Regions from separate parts of the Homo sapiens genome. Here region 1 is linked to region 2. The links are contacts of gene promoters, found by promoter capture Hi-C in human tissues and cell types (Jung and others, 2019). All regions are on one chromosome and are shown on one strand. Each heading gives the region's core, a stretch centred on a gene start or on the middle of the fragment in contact. The rest is flanking DNA. Distances are from core to core; before and after follow the strand shown. Region 1 has its middle 16 kb from the start of SPINT4. Region 2 holds the start of SEMG2 (semenogelin 2).

The links. Contacts are between HindIII fragments. The study calls those that stand out against the background at their distance.
Region 1: a fragment that was not itself captured here is called in contact with the fragment with the promoter of SEMG2 in region 2 in 1 of the 25 tissues and cell types used here (mesenchymal stem cells).

What each region holds. Positions count from the first base shown.
Region 1 is chr20:45,736,052-45,740,231 of GRCh38, reverse strand. No RefSeq gene overlaps it. Among named protein-coding and RNA genes, the nearest start is that of SPINT4, 16 kb to the right of the region's middle. The HindIII fragment of the contact is 5,137 bases long and covers 1-4,079 here.
Region 2 is chr20:45,219,662-45,223,563 of GRCh38, reverse strand. It overlaps SEMG2 (semenogelin 2), which reads right to left and starts at 2,191. Exons shown (of 3, transcript NM_003008.3): 1 at 2,099-2,191; 2 at 139-1,855. The coding sequence starts at 2,174. The coding sequence ends at 183. The HindIII fragment of the contact is 14,800 bases long and covers 1-3,902 here.

The sequences.
Region 1 (4,180 bases), core at 262-2,761, 520 kb before region 2:
CAAAAGATGGGTATTACAGTTTGCCTGCAATTTTTGAAACTGTGAAGATAAAATAGGGTTAATTTTCACCTTAGCTACCTTGAAAAATATATACATATAATTGTACCCCATCTCAGTTGTAAAATATAATGGGAGCCATTAAAGTCCAAAAGATGGGAAAATGTAAAGCCTGCCCAGGCAGTTCTCTCAAAAGCTAATATCACACAGAAATGAAGTTTTACATAAAGAACACAGCTTATTTGTGGTATTGGCTAAACACAAAAGTATGAAATGCATAATAGAGGAGGATTGTTAACGCAAGTCAGCTATTACGGGCTTATAATGAACAGCACAAATAAAGCTACCTGTATTTTCCTAATCATTGTGTTGTAGCATTAATATTTTTCAAGCATTTATTTTTTATTTCTTTTATTGTTTTATATAGGGTATGTTGGTTTATGATATAATTAACCACTTTTTTCACAGTATTTATTGGTAATATACAGATAGAGCTCATTTAGAGATTTTATACTTGTAGCCAGTTGAAGGAGTCGGAGCTGACTTTCGATTGTCTCCCTTTAAGGAGTAGGTAAGTACTTTTTGTGATGTTAGACCAAGGCATTAAACATATTTATGAACAGAAAGGAGAGAGTATATGCATGGAATAGTCAAGGGTTGGGAGGTAGTGAACAGCAGTTGTTTAGGTCTGCTCATCAGTATATTTCACATCTAATAATAGCATTCCAACTTTTCCTTGTAGAATTGTCCTTCCCATTCATAGTGCCCTAAGTTGCCTAAACATATAAACTTGAGAAAATTAAGGATGGGACAGTTGGGGGCTGTGATCATTATTGTAAATCTCGGGGAACTGAGGCATTTTCTACACTGGGATTTGTTTATATTGAGCCATTTTTTGGGCTTTTTAAAAAAAATTCATTTTCGACAAGTTATAGTTGTGTGTGTATCTATATATATATATGCAACTATAACTTGTATATGTTACATATATAGTTTTGTAAACCATATATATAACTATATATACAGTTTTGTAAACCATATATATAACTATATATACAGTTTTGTAAACCATATATATAACTATATATAGTTTTGTAAACCATATATATAACTATATATACAATTTTGTAAACTATATATAACTATATATACAGTTTTGTAAACTATATATAACTATATATACAGTTTTGTAAACTATATATATAACTATATATAGTTTTGTAAACTATAACTATATATATAACTATATATAGTTTTGTAAACTATAACTATATATAACTATATATAGTTTTGTAAACTATAACTATATATATAACTATATATAGTTTTGTAAACTATAACTATATATAACTATATATATAGTTTTGTAAACTATAACTATATATAGGTTTTTTTTTGACTTGGGGTCTTGCTCTGTCACCCAGGCTGGAGTGCAGTGGCATGATCTTGGCTCACACTAGCCTCGATCTCCTGGGCTCAAGCAATCCTCCCCCCTCAGCCTCCTGAGTAGCTGGAATTACAGGTGGGCACCACCACACCCGACTAATTTTGTGTTTTTTTTTTTTTTTTTTTTTTGTAGAGACAATGTCTCACTATGTTGCCCAGGCTGGTCTTGAACTCCTGGGCTCAAGCAATCCTCCTGCCTCAGTCTTCCAAAGTGCTGGGGTTATGGGCAGGAGCCACTGTGTCGAGCTTGTTGTATATATTTATGGGGTACAAAGTGATGTTATAATTTATGATTTGATTGGAATAATCAAATCAACCAAATTAACATATTCATAATCTCAAATACTTATTTTTTTGTGGTGAGAACATTTGAAATCTACTCTTAGTGATTTTGAAGTGCACAATATACTATTATTAACTATATTCACCACATTGTGTTAATAGATCTTGAAAAAATCTTATCCTTCTAGTCTGAGGCTTTGTACCCTTTACAATCATCTCCCCATTTCCCCCAACACTCCAGCCTCTGGTAACCACCATTCTAATTCTGCTTCTATGAGTTTGATTGTTTTAGATTCTACATGTAAGTGAGAACATATGGTATTTGTCTTTCTGTGTAGACTTATTTTAATTTAGGATAATGTTCTTCAGTTTCACCCATGTTGTCACAACTGACTGAATTTCTTTCTTTTTTTTTTTTTCTCTGGAGTGTCTGGTTTATTGAAAATGCTGATCATGGAGCAGGAACCAAATTGTTGGGAACTGTGGGGCTGAACAGGAGAGGGATATCCAGGTATCAGAAGGTAAAAGGAGGTCAGCTGAGCAGCCAGGGCAGCATTAGGACCAGGTTGAGCAGGATGAATTTCTTTTTAAGGGCTGAATAGTATTCCATTGTACATAACTAAACACACATTTTCTTTATCCATTCATTTGTTGATGGAAAGTTAGGCTGATTCCACAACTTGGCTATTGTGAATAGTCGATGCAATGAACATAGGAGTGCAGACATCTCTTCAACATACTGGTTTCAATCTTTTGAGTAAATACCCAGAAGTGGGATTGCTGGGTCATAGGTTAATTCTATTCTAATTTTTTGAGGTGCCTCTATAATGTTGTCCATAATGTCTGTACTAATTTACATTCCTGTTAACAGTGTACAAGGGTTTCCTTTTCTCCGCATCCTGCCAACACTTGATATTTTTCATTTTTTTGACAATGGCCATTCTGACAGGTGTGAGATTGTGTCCGGAATTGGTGGGTTCTTGGTCTCACTGACTTTAAGAATGAAGCCGCAGACCCTCGCGGTGACTGTTACAGTTCTTTTTTTTTGAGACAGAGTCTCGCTCTGTCACCCAGGATGGAGTACAGTGGCGCGATCTCGGCTCACTGCCACCTCTGCCTTCTGGGTTCAAGCGATTCTCCTGTCTCAGCCTCCCGAGTAGCTGGGACTACAGGTGTGTGCCACCACGCCTAGCTAATTTTTTTCTATTTTTAGTAGAGATGGGGTTCCACTGTGTTAGCCAGGATGTTCTTGATCTCCTGACCTCTTGATCCACCCACGTTGGCCTCCCAAAGTGCTGGGATTACAGGCATGAGCCACAACGCCTGGCCTGACTGTCACAGTTCTTAAAGGCGGCATGTCCAGAGTTCGTTCCTTCTGATGTTTGGATGTGTTTGGAGTTTCTTCCTTCTGGTGGGTTTGTGGTCTCGCTGGCTTAGGAGTGAAGCTGCAGACCTTTGTGGTGAGGGTTACAGCTCTTAAGGCGGCATGTCTGGAGTTGTTCATTCCTCCCGGTAGGTTCGTGGTCTCGATGGCATCAGGAGTGAATCTATAGACCTTTGTGGTGAGTGTTACAGCTCATAAAGGCAGTGTGGACCAAACAGTGAGCAGTAGCAAGATTTATTGCAAAGAGTGAAAGAACAAAGCTTCCACAGTGTGGAAGGGGACCTGAGCCGGTTGCCACTGCTGGCTCCAGCAGCCTGCTTTTATTCTCTTATCTGGCCCCACCCACATCCTGCTGATTGGTCCATTTTACAGAGAGCCGATTGGTCTGTTTTAAACAGAGCTGATTGGTCCATTTTGACAGGGTGCTGATTGGTGTATTTACAATCCCTGAGCTAGACACAAAAGTTCTCCATGTCCCCACTAGATTAGCTAGATACAGAGTGCTGATTGGTGTATTTACAAACTCTGAGCTAGACACACAGTGCTGATTGGTGCATTTACAAACCTTGAGCTAGATACAGAGTGCTGATTGGTGTATTCACAATCCCTTAGCTAGACATAAAGGTTATCCAAGTCCCCACCAGATTAGCTAGATAGAGAGTGCCGATTGGTGCATCCACAAACCCTGAGCTAGACACAGAGTGCTGATTGGTGTGTTTACAATCCCCTAGCTAGACATAAAGGATCTCCAAGTCCCCACTAGACTCAGGAGTGCAGCTGGTTTCACCCAGTGGGTCCCGCTCTGGGGCCGCAGGTGGAGCTGCCTGCCGGTCCCGCGCCATGCGCCCGCACTCCTCAGCCCTTGGGCAGTCGATGGGACCGGGAGCCATGGAGCAGGGGGCGGTGCCCATCAGGGAGGCTCCGGCTATGTGGGAGCCCACTGTCGGGGGCTTAGGCATGGTGGGCTGCAGGTCCCAAGCCCTGCCCCATGGGGAGGCGGCCGAGGCCCAGCGAGAATTTGAGTGCAGCGGAGGTGGGTCGGCAGCGCTGGGGGACCCGGCACACCTTCTG
Region 2 (3,902 bases), core at 942-3,441:
ATGGTGTTCATCTTCCCACCACTTGTAATATAGCACTTCTATTGATGTGAACAATGGTTATCAGTCCTACCATGTTCCTGGAGAGTCCCCAACTTTGGGACAGGCACCTCTCCTATTTGGTAAGAAAAGCAAACTTACCTTGCTATTGGTCCAGCTTTTCAAGTGGTTGCTAAGCAACAGGGCTATGTAGATATTGGATTTCTGTCTTCATTATATTGTTGTGTCAAATGATCATCTTGGGCAACCTCATGCTCAGTAATTACAATATTATGTGACTCACTGGATTCCTGTTTGTATCTGCCTTTTTGTTCATGACTGAGTAGGTCTTGTTTGCTATCTGCAGATTGACCAGACTTTCCTTTTGCATTTTGGCCAGACCATTGATCTTGATTAGGATTTGGTGTCTGGATTTGAGACTTGCCTTCTACTAGCTTTTCAATTTGGAAAGAAATACTGCTTTGGGATACATCTTTCTGCGTGCTCTTTCCTCCATAGTTGAGTCGTCTTTCTTCTGTACTTGAAGATTGGTATGACATTTTATTTTCCTTATGGCCATGCTCTTGATCTTGACTAGGAATTGTTACCTGGTTTTGAGACTTGCCATGTATTTTCTCTTCAGTTTGGATAGAAATACTGCCTTTGGATACACCTTTCTGTACATCCTTTTCTCCACTGTTGAGACGTCTTTCTTCTGTACTCGAAGATTGGTATGATATTTTATTTTCCTTATGGCCATACTCTTGAGCTTGACTAGGAATTCTTACCTGGTTTTGAGACTTGCCATGTATTTGCTCTTCAGTTTGGATCGAAATACTGCCTTTGGATACACCTTTCTGGATGCCCTTTTCTCCACAGTTGAGATGTCTTTCTTCTGTACTTGAAGATTGGTATGATATTTTATTTTCCTTATGGCCATGCTCTTGATCTTGACTATGAATTGTTACCTGGTTTTGAGACTTGCCATGTATTTTCTCTTCAGTTTGGATAGAAATGCTGCCTTTGGATACATCTTTCTGTACACTCTTTTCTCCATGGTGAAGTTGTCTTTCTTCTGTACGTGAAGACGGGTATGATATTTTATGTGCCTTCCGGCCATGCTCTTGATCTTGACTGAGATTTTTTGTCTGGTGTTGATTCTTGTTATATACTAGGAGCTCATCTTGGGTAGTAAAAATGTCTTTGGGTCCATGTTGGAGTCTGTCTTGATGTGCAGGATGGAGTGAAGTTTGTAGTTTACTTGAATGTTCCTCTCTCACGTCAACCACATTTTGGTAATGCCCTTTATTTTGATGAGAATTTTTAGTCTCACGTTGTTGTTTGTTAACTACTAGTTCTTCAGTTTGGAGAACATAACTGCTTTGGGATCCACCTTGTGTTCTACCTTTTTGTGCACCAGAGGCTGAAGCTTGTTCTTTACTTAGTCCATGAACCCATAGCCTTTTTTCTGTGTTTGAACATTGACTGGATAATCCCTTTCCAGATGGGCTATTCCCCTGATCTTGAGAAGGATTTTGTGTCCCATGATGAGCTTGGCCTCCTTTATGATGTATAACTATCATGTGAAAATGACCTTTTGATTTATCATGGTCTCTGCCTTCTTGTTTATAATTGAGCAGTTGTTGACTTCCACCTAGGTGTTGTTTTGATTTTGTCGCCTTATGTAGGGCATTCAAATCATATTGCTGACTTTTTCGGGTCCAGTCATGATCATTGATGTCTACATGATATGTGTGTTGAATAGAAAAACTGCCTTTGGATTTAGTATGTTGTTGGTCTTTTTGTCCAAAATAGTGCTGGCCCTTTTGTCCATGTGGAAATTGGGAAGATCCGCTTGGCAATTGGCCTTTTGATCCACCTGGTAATTGATAATAGAAATGTATGCATTCATTATCTCCAAAGCTCTCTTGCAACTCTTACCTCCCACCTTTTCCCAACAAATTTCTGATATTTCCAAAAGCCTACAGCGTTGGGTGGAGAAAAATCAATTCTCATCAAGGAGAAGAATCTGTGCCTGAACAGGTTACTGTTTGCACCCTGAATATCCTTAGAGGCCATTTTTTTAAAGTAGCTTTCCCCAAGGCTTACCCTCTCCACTCACCTTTTTGTCCCATCACAGCTGCTTGCTTCTCCAAGATAAGGAGCAGGGAAAGGACAAAGAGGATGATGGACTTCATCTTGCTTGAAAAATCTTGTCTGAGAACTGAGCGGATCTCTTCATTTATATGTTCCTTGAGTGGGTGTGCTATGGGTGGAGCTGAAATGTCAAAAGGCACTGCCCTTTCATAGCTTATTAGTAAATGCCAGCTTCCTCACCCCTGCTCAGTGGGGGATAATGTCAAAGTCCCCAGGGACTTAGCATGGGGACATAATATCAAAGGCAATTTTTTTTACTTTCAGAATCCCCAGCAAAATTTTATCGGTCTTTGTATATCATCATGCCAGATCGCTTGCATTATACAGAAGAAATTCAGTCCGGAGTAGGAAGGAGACTAGCTTCAGGTTACAAAAGTAATTGGTGGCTGACAATGCCTTCATACTCTAAATGCGAGTTTCCTTTCTGATCCAATAACTTAAATACTAAATTTTAGGTATAACTCTATACTTTGTCTTGTTTTAAAGTAATCCTGAGACACATTCTGTTTTACTCGAGAAGGAGCAGTCATAGAAGTAGAATGATACAGAAGAGAAAGAAACTTCATGGAAGCCAAAGAAAAAAATTTCAACAAATAAATGAGGCATACCAATGTCAAATGTATCTGTGAAGTTCATCACAAAAAAGACTAACATGTGTCAAAAACTTTCTGATGTTACTCACTGCTAGTAATGTTAACGAGAGATGAATACAGTTGTGTTGGGTTGTCAGTTGAAGGATGGAGTCCAGCTGAAACCATCTCAAGAAGTCTGATTTCATGGTGGAATGAGAGGTGAGGCTGTATCTGGAGGGTGAGGTAAGCTCCAGAGATTTTTTGAAAGGATGAGAAAAATTTAACATGTTTTTATGATGATAGGAACAACTGTTGGAAAAAGAAGTAAGAATGTTGGTTTCCAAATTGGATTATTTGATGATATTTACCTAAACAAAAATGTATTTACCAAAATACATTTTTTAAATAAAAGCATTTCATACTTCTGTAATAAACTGCTGAACCCTCCAACAGGCTGTGAGGAATATTTGCCAACTTCAGTTCATTAAATAATGTATTGAGAGTGGACCTAAAGCTAAAATTTTTACCTTGGGTGGAAGCATAGGGTTTTTTTGCTTTTGTTTTGTTTTGTTGTGTTGTGTTGTTTTGTTTTGTTTTTTTGCAATTGTGAAAACTTCTTGAAAAATCCAAGGAAGGTTTTTTGTTTGTTTGTTTGTTTGTTTTGTTTTTTTTGTTTGTTTGTTTTTGAGACAGAGTCTCGCTCTGTCGCCCAGGCTGGAGTGCAGTGGCACCATCTCGGCTCACTGCAAGCTGTGCCTCCCAGGTTCATGCCATTCTCCTGCCTCAGCTTCCCAAGTAGCTGGGACTACAGGTGCCTGCCACCACGCCCGGCTAATTTTTTGTATTTTTAGTAGAGACGGGGTTTCACCGTGTTAGCCAGGATGGTCTCAATCTCCTGACCTCGTGATCCGCCCGCCTCAGCCTCCCAAACTGCTGGGATTACAGGCATGAGCCACTGCACCCGGCCAGTTTCTTTACTTTGACTGAAAAAGTCCTTGTTATGAGAAGACAACAGGAGAAGCAGCAACATTTGAACAGTGACCCTGTATGCATTCAGAACACTGTGGAGGGTAGTTCTGGAGAAAGGACGGCTTGGAAACTTATTTTCTATTATTCTCTCTTAAAATCCTAACCTTCCTGTAAGCAATGCTATATGGAAGGGGAGAGGGGAAAGGCCAACCATAGGAAAAAATGCTA